Regions from separate parts of the Homo sapiens genome. Here region 2 is linked to region 1. The links are contacts of gene promoters, found by promoter capture Hi-C in human tissues and cell types (Jung and others, 2019). All regions are on one chromosome and are shown on one strand. The core of a region is centred on a gene start or on the middle of the fragment in contact, and the rest is flanking DNA. Distances in the headings are between cores, read along the strand shown.

Region 1 (4,207 bases), core at 1,203-3,702:
GCCCAGCACGTTCTTCCTTGCAGTCCGAGCTGTTCCTTCCACCTCACCTTCCTCACAGGCCTCCTGACCAGGTCAGATACCACCTTCTCAGCATTGGCCACAGGGGCTGAGTTTGTATAGTGTTGGCCCCTCCCACGCACTGAGAGCTCCCCGGGGGTGGGACCTCTAGCATTTCCACCGCACAGAGGAGGGTGGGCCGGGGCTGGGACCAGTGCACCTGCATGACCCTGAGAGTGATGCCTCCTTAAATTCTATGCCCCAGCACCTCCCTCACCTCCTTCTCTGTCCTGGAGTGAGCATGTGCCCCCGTGAGGGTTGTAGCCCAAAGGGTCGCCACCACCTCAAAATCTCTTTGAAGTCTTATTTTATCTTTAAAATAGCTTGTGAATTTTGTATTTAACTCCATAATGTAGCAATGTGTATTTAAATGTAAAAGCAATGTCCTTCCCGAAATCAGAGTTGCTGCAGGAAGACAGGCCGTGTGCGCCTGGGGCCTCTTGGAGATGCCATGCCCAAGTCAAGACACAGTCATGGAATTCCACACTGGGCATAAAATGACCAGCAAGAGTCCAGCAAGGGGACCGGCAGGGCCCCCTTTACAGGACATCACTCCCAGCCCAGGCTTAGTAGTGATGGGGGAAATGTTTCCTCTAAGCTGCCTGGCTTCAAATCCCATGAAAGCCACCCTGTGGGGCCTTGGCGATGAGAAATCTTTCTGCAGTGTTGTGTCCTATATGTAGGCAGGAATGATGTGATTCCTATTTCATGGACAGGACATCCTGTAGGTGCTCAGTCAATCAATGTAAGCTCTTAACACGCTCCTCACCCACCATCTCTTTTGCCTGCCCTCTGCCAACATGGCTAAAACCCTGGCCCCTTTCAGTTCTGCCAAACCATGACATGTTTTAGTTATGAAGCCCCAATTAATTACGTTTCTTAATTAGTGGTTCTGTTTCTAGAATCCCCAACTTTCTATATAAGTAACTGAATACACATCCACATAGGTTTAAATACGGTCCCCAGAGCCCAGCATCAGCATCCCCTTGTTAGAAATACTTCCAGGCCCCAGCCCAAGCCCACTGAGTCACAAACGCTAGGGAGCTGGGAGCAGTGGGGGGCGCCTGTAATCCCAGCTACCTTAGAGGCTGAGGCGGGAGGACTGCTTGAGGCCGGGAATTTGAGACCAACCTGGGCAGCATAGCAAGACCCCTATCTCGAAAAAGTTAGAAAGAAGGAAACTCTGGGAGTGGGGCCCTGTGATGTGACAACGGGCCCCCGAGTGATGTCCGTGCATGCTGAAGTAGAATCACTGACTTAGATGGCCCTCAGGGTGGCCTTAAAACCAAAACAAGAAAAACACCACTTTTAGACGTTCCCCCAATCCCTAGGTACCACGACGCGCTTCCCCACCCCTCCCCGGCCTCAGGTTCGGGCCTTGGCCCCTGGCAAGGCCGGAGCAGCAGGGCGGTGACAGCGCAGTCCGGCGCGGGCCACGCCCCCACTCCCGGTGGGCGGGGAGGGTGCTTGGGGCGCTGGCGTCCGGTTGCGGTGGGAGGTGGTGCGTGCCGCGTGGGCGCCGGCCCCACGGGGCCCCCTCTCCGCCCTCCCTGCGGGATCCCGGGGCGCGGACTCGCGGGCGCGTCGGGCGGGACAGGGGGAGGGGCGGGACGTGCTCCCGGGCCTGGCGCGAATGGCCTCCGGCCGCTCTCGGCTGCGGGCCATGGCCGCTCCCCGGCGCGTCCCCACACGGTCCCCGCCCCAGTCTGGCCGCAGCCCACCCCGCGCCGCCACTGGGCAGATGGGGGCGGCGGCTCCTGCCTCCCGGCTTTCGGAAGAGCAGAGCGGAGCGCGCCTGACCGAGTCAGGCTTCCGAGTGGGATTGGAACCCGGGGCGCCCTGAAGTTTGGGGAAAGCAGGAGCAGAAGGGAAGGGATGCGCTCCCCGCTCTCCGGCGGCGCGGAATGGGCCTCCTTCCAGCCTCTGCGTAGGCAAGATTTCCCCAGTTGCGCGCTGCACCGGGGACTCCCCAGCCCGTGAGGCAGCCAAGAGGAGAGCGCTCAGTGACCCTCTGGGGGCAGAGCCGTCAGGCCAAGTTCATGGGCAGGAAGACTTTGTGCACGTGGGGGTCTCTGAAGGTTGAGCGCGAGCTCTGCACCCCCACTTCGAGGCACTCAAGAAGCGGAACAGACGCGAGCCCCGCCGGGGGTGCGGGTGAGGGCTGCAGGGAGCCCGCGAACGACAGAAAGTCGCCCCCCGCATTCCACCGGAGCACTCGGGAACACGGCTTCCAGGTGTCCCAGCGGCCGCGCCTCCCCGCCCCCGGCCCTCCCCCGTCGCGGGCAGGTTCAACCGGGAGGCGGCGTGGCCCCGGAGCCGGCCCCAGGCCCGCATCCTCCTCCCACTTCGCCCTGGGCAGCCGCAGCTAAAAGCCGGAGGCTCCAAAGTGGAACTACGTTGTCTTGTCGAGCCTGGGGCGACTCGCCTCGGGGAGGGCGAGCCTGAACTGCAGCCCTGCGCTCCTTCCACGGCCCGAGGAGTTAGTTAAGTCTCCAGAGGGGCCCGGTTCGGCCCGAGCAAGTCCAGGGGCGAACGGCGTCATGGAGCCCATAGGGGCGCGGCTAAGTTTGGAGGCGCCGGGACCAGCGCCCTTCCGAGAGGCCCCGCCGGCCGAGGAGCTGCCCGCCCCGGTGGTCCCCTGTGTGCAGGGTGGCGGCGACGGCGGTGGCGCTTCGGAGACCCCGAGTCCTGACGCTCAGCTAGGGGATAGGCCCCTGTCCCCGAAGGAAGAGGCCGCCCCCCAGGAGCAGGAGGAGCTGCTGGAATGCCGCCGCCGCTGCCGCGCGCGCTCCTTTTCCTTGCCCGCCGACCCCATCTTGCAGGCGGCCAAGTTCCTGCAGCAGCAGCAGCAACAGGCGGTGGCACTGGGCGGCGAGGGGGCGGAGGACGCACAGCTCGGCCCGGGCGGCTGCTGCGCCAAGTGCAAGAAGCGGGTGCAGTTCGCGGACACGCTGGGGCTAAGCCTGGCCAGCGTGAAGCACTTCAGCGAGGCGGAGGAGCCGCAGGTGCCGCCCGCCGTGCTCTCGCGCCTCCGAAGCTTCCCTATGCGTGCCGAGGACCTGGAGCAGCTCGGGGGGCTGCTGGCCGCGGCGGCAGTGGCCGCGCCCCTTTCAGCGCCGCCTTCCCGGCTCCGGCCGCTCTTCCAGCTCCCGGGGCCGAGCGCCGCGGCCGAGCGTCTGCAGCGGCAGCGCGTGTGCCTGGAGCGCGTGCAGTGCTCGACGGCCTCGGGCGCTGAGGTGAAGGGCTCCGGCCGGGTGCTCAGCTGCCCTGGGCCCAGGGCCGTGACCGTGCGCTACACCTTTACCGAGTGGCGCTCCTTCCTGGACGTGCCGGCTGAGCTGCAGCCCGAGCCGCTGGAGCCACAGCAGCCAGAGGCACCGTCTGGGGCCTCCGAGCCAGGGTCCGGGGATGCCAAGAAAGAGCCAGGCGCCGAGTGCTTCCACTTCTCGCTGTGCCTGCCCCCGGGCCTGCAGCCTGAGGACGAAGAGGACGCCGACGAGCGCGGCGTCGCGGTCCACTTCGCTGTCTGCTACCGCTGCGCGCAGGGCGAGTACTGGGACAACAACGCGGGCGCCAACTACACGCTGCGCTACGCGCGCCCTGCGGACGCGCTCTGAGCCTGGAGAGTTTCGAAGAGCCGTGGGGCGGGGTTGATTAGCACGTGGAGCTCGGGCTGCCGCCTCAAGGAACTTGCTGGGACGCTTTGCTGAGCGTGGCGAGTCTGGCGTGAGGGGCGCGTGGAGGGAAAGGAGGGAGACTTTGAACCGTCGACTCGCACCCCCGCAGACAAGTGAGCGAGCTTAGAGAGCCCGGGCAATGCTCCGAAAGCCTCTGACCTCAGTCTTCTCGTCCGTTTGACCTTCCTACAAGGCCTCTAGAATTCCCAGCCTGCGTCAGAATAGGAAGAAACTTCCAAGGCCCGGAGCAGCTGCCTCCAAGAAAAAGGCTCCCAACTCCCGGGCATGGTTCTAAGGCCTTGGGATTGGTTTTTAACTCTAAATATCATATTGTAGCCCTTGCAGTTTGCTGGAGACCCCTAGGGAAAGAACAAAGCGTCCTGCCACGGTGCACCAGAGGAAGGTGCCACGGACTGTGGGTGCACGCGTGGGACCTTTACACCCCAACCTATTTCTCAGAGAAAACCCTTCGG
Region 2 (4,207 bases), core at 1,243-3,742, 780 kb before region 1:
GCCTCAGCCTCCTCAAGTGCTGGGATTACAGGCGTGAGCCACCGCACCTAGCCCAAACCAGTTTCTAAGAATTATCTGGGCAATGTGTAATCCCCAGTGGCAATTTCCAGAAATTCTCATTTTAAAAGCTCCTCATTGATATTGACACTGATGTTCTATGGACCACAGTTGGGAAAATACTGGGAGCAGATAGAAAACTTCCAGCCCCAACAGTCTCTGCTGGACCCTGGCTGTGATGTTAAATTTTATTCTGTCTGGTTGGCTTTAGAGTTCTCTTTATTATCTTACACATAAAGCTTTTTTAAATGATTGGGGAATTTACAATAATTTATCACAATAACATTTGGAAGCATTTGAGAGAGCAATAGTTCTTAGCTGAATTTCTTTGGGCAGAGGTAAATATACAAAGAAAACAGGTGAGAAGTTGGCTCTATATCAGATAGTCTAAAGAAAATGTTGTAGAGAAGAACTACATTCCATTACACTACTACTTTTGAAATATTTTCTTTTTCCCCTCATTTCCCTCCTATCCTGTCTCCCTCATCTCTTTGCTTTATGTTTAGATTCCCTTGATTAGAAATGGCAAAATCAGGAAGTGAAAGATCTGACACATGTAGAAGTAAATGGGAACCAGGCCCTCAGGGCCACCCAATAGTTGACCTCAAAGCTTGGCCTGGTTGATGTCCACATGCCATGTCATCGGGAGCCCCCTCTTTTTGGCTTCTGGGGATTTTTATCAGAAAGGGAGGAGCCATCCCAAGGCAGCTTTTACCTGTCACAGATAGCATCAAACCCTGACTCCAAAAACTTGAGGAAAATCAAAAGCATGTGGTCACCAGGAAAAAAAAATGAGGATCTCATCTTTAATCACAATAAAGCTAGAATTCCCAGATGGTACATTTTTGGATCTTTGCATCCATCTGCTAGTTCAAGTACTTCAACAGCAATTGCCCTCATGGTGATTTCACAAATTCCTCACATCCTTCATTCATTTGACAAATATTCATTGAGCATCTACTTGGCGCCATGAACTAGAGATCAGTGTGAGCAGATGACATGAACTCTGCCTTGCAAATGCCACTTGCATCAAGCCCCACAAACAGAGGGACTCTGGCACTGTGGTCTGAGAGGTCAGAAGGAGTCTTTCTGAGGAGATGACAGTGAGCTGAGATTGGAAGACCAGTAGGAGAGAACTAGATGAACTAAATGAAAAGATGCTCCACCTACAGAGTTGGGTGCCAGCTACTGAAAGATAGCCTTCATGGGGGAAATAGCAAATCATGTCTCCCTTTGGCCCAAGTCATGACTTGTCTGCCTGTCTGCCTCACATGAGGTGGGGGGACTGCAGGATGTTTTTGGAAATGTTTTCTGAACACTGATCCCCGATATATACTCTAATTCCATACTTGTTATTGAATTTTGCAATAGGAAATTTAAACCACATGCTGTTTATTTAAAAATTTCGATTAAATTTTCCTTTGACTTGCACTTCCAAATAATAAATCAAATGTTGCTTAGTTTAATTTTCAAGTTGATGAAGATTCTTTTCCTGTTGCTAATTCAAGTCACTTAAGGTGAATTTTGATTAATTTGTGATAGGAAGTTTTGTCTTTCTTAATTGAAAACGCTTTTGAACCAATAGCATATTGCACTAAATTACTCAGGAAATGGCAGTGCTAGGGCTAAGAAAATCTTTATTTTTTTATTTTTATAAAAAAATGATCACAGATTTCAAAGGATTAATTTCTCCACTCTTACTGAAAAGAGCTATTGAACTCTCAGTTGACTACAAGTGATTTATCTCTGCTAATTAAAAATAAAAATCTTCCTGACTTCTTGGTGTCAATGTGTGCAATTCCAATGATGATCATGCTCTATATTTATACAGGGGCTAATATATCACTTGCACATATTTTTATCTTTTTAAGCTTCCCAGCATCACTTAACTGATGGTTGATGGGGAGGGGATGATCTGGAAGGATGATAAATTAAGACTGTCTCTCATTTTAAACCATAAAATAGGTATGTAATGAATCAGAGCTGAAACACAATCATCCTGAAAGAAAAGATTGCTGGGTTGAATGTTAGTTCTGCTTTTAGCTCTTTGAGGAATTGTAACACTGCTTTCCATAATGGTTGCACTAATTTACACTTCTGCCAACAGTGTGTAAGTGTTCCCTTTTCTCTGCAACCTTGCCAGTGTCTGTTGTTTGTTTGTTTTCCACTTTTTAATAGTAGCCATTCTGACTGGTGTAAGATGGTATCTCACTGTAGTTTTGATTTGCATTTCTCTAATGATCAGCGATATTGAGCTTTTTTTTCCAGAGGAATATAAATCACTCTACTATAAGATACATGCACATGAATGTTCATTGCAACACCATTTACAATAACAAAGACAGGGTATCAACCTAAATGCCTATCAGTGATGGAATGGATAAAGAAAATGTGGTAATATAAACCATGGACAACTATGCAGCCATAAAAAGAACAAGATCATGTATTTTTCAGGAACATGGATGGATCTGGAGGCCATCATCCTTAGCAAACTAATTCAGGAGCAGAAAATCAAATACCACATGTTCTCACTTATAAATGGGAGCTAAATGATGAGAACTCATGAACACAAAGAAGGGAACAGTAGACATGGGGTCTATTTTAGGAGGAGGGAGAGGAACAGAAACGATAACTATTGGGTACTAGGCTTAATACCTGGGTGATAAAATAATCTGTACAACAAACCCCCATGACACAAGTTTCCTATGCAGCAAACCTGCACATGTAGCCCTAAACCTAAAATAAAAGTTTTTTAAAAAAGAAAGTAAAGATTGAGCTTAAGGTGTTAACTTAAGAAAGAATGTCTGTGCCAATCAGGAGAAGAATGAAATCTAGAGTCCTCACTAATGCCTGCATTTTCACTCCTGCGTGACCTGGCTCCCACCTACTCCTCCAGTTTATTTTCTGCTACTCTTTTTCTCATGTGCTTGCCCCCAGCTGCACAGACCTACTTGCTGTTCCTGCAACACGCACAAGGCTTGCTCTTGCCTCTGTGTCTTTGCACGTGCTGTTCCTTCTGCCTGAAGGCTCTTCCCTTGATATTCTCATCATAGCTCACTCACTGGCTTCCTTTAGCTCTGCTCAAATGCACTTCTTTAGAGAGACCTTCTGGACCAGCTCAAAAAGCATTCCCATCACTCGTTATTGCCTTCCATGTATCATTTGTTTTCATAACACTTATCATCAACTGATGAATTGTATACATATACAATTATATATATGTTACATATAATTTACTGTATGTTTTAGATCAGTTTTGGGTTCACAGCAAAATTAAGAGGAAGACACAGAGATTTCCCATATGCCCCTTCCCTGACACATGCACAGCCTCCTCCATATCAACATCCTCCACCAGAGTGGCACATTTGTTACCATTGATGACCCTACATTGGCATACCCTCATCACACAAAGTTTATAGCTTATCTTAGGGTTCATTCTTGGTGTTCATTCTGTGGGTTTGGATAAATATATGATGACAAGTATCCACCATTTTAGTATCATACAGAGTGTTTTCACTGCCCTAAAAGCCCTCTGTGCTCTACCTGTGCATCCCTTCTTCCTCCAACCCTTGGCAACCACTTATCTTTTTACTGTCTCTATAGTTTTGCCTTTTTGAGTGTCATGAAGTTGAATTCATCAGTTATGCAGCCTTTTCAGATTGGCTTCATTCACTTAGCAGTATACATTTAAGTTTCCTCAATGTCTTCACAGCTTGATGAGCCATTACTTTGTAGTGCTGAATAATATTCCATTGTCTCGATGTACCAGAGTTTATTTGTCCATTCACCTACTGAAGGACATCTTGGTTGCTTCACAAGTTTTGGAGCATAAAGGTATTTTTCTCTTTATTTATTATTTGATCTCTCTTTTTCCATCCCTCCAACATAGTGACTATGCCTATTTGTATACTCTTATATCCCAATGACTAGTATACTGATTGTACATAATATGTGCTCAAAAATATTTTATTGAATAAAGAATTGAGGAAGGAAAGTAAAAAATACAGAAAAGAGATCAAATGAATGAGCGCTAGAAGTAACTGTAATATACTGTATAGGAAGAGGTATGCCTGGGTCAAATAACTCAATCTGTCCAGTCTCAGTAGCAAGGACAGGGCCTAAAGACATTGCTTCATTGGTGACTAAGTGT

What was found. The method cuts DNA at HindIII sites, captures the fragments that hold promoters and counts their contacts. A contact is called where the count stands out against the background at its distance.
Region 2: a contact is called between a fragment that was not itself captured here and the fragment with the promoter of PPP1R3G in region 1, in 1 of the 25 tissues and cell types used here (mesenchymal stem cells).

The regions. Positions count from the first base shown.
Region 1 is chr6:5,082,889-5,087,095 of GRCh38, forward strand. It overlaps PPP1R3G (protein phosphatase 1 regulatory subunit 3G), which reads left to right and starts at 2,453. Exons shown (of 1, transcript NM_001145115.3): 1 at 2,453-4,207. The coding sequence starts at 2,598. The coding sequence ends at 3,674. The region is part of intron 3 of LYRM4-AS1 (LYRM4 antisense RNA 1); the gene reads left to right. It also overlaps a transcript of LYRM4 not described here. RefSeq lists silencers at 1,435-1,504, 1,535-1,814, 2,225-2,404, 2,655-2,754, 2,895-2,944 and 1 more and an enhancer at 2,735-3,424. The HindIII fragment of the contact is 9,723 bases long and covers 1-4,207 here.
Region 2 is chr6:4,303,195-4,307,401 of GRCh38, forward strand. No RefSeq gene overlaps it. Among named protein-coding and RNA genes, the nearest start is that of ECI2-DT, 170 kb to the left of the region's middle. The HindIII fragment of the contact is 7,086 bases long and covers 1-4,207 here.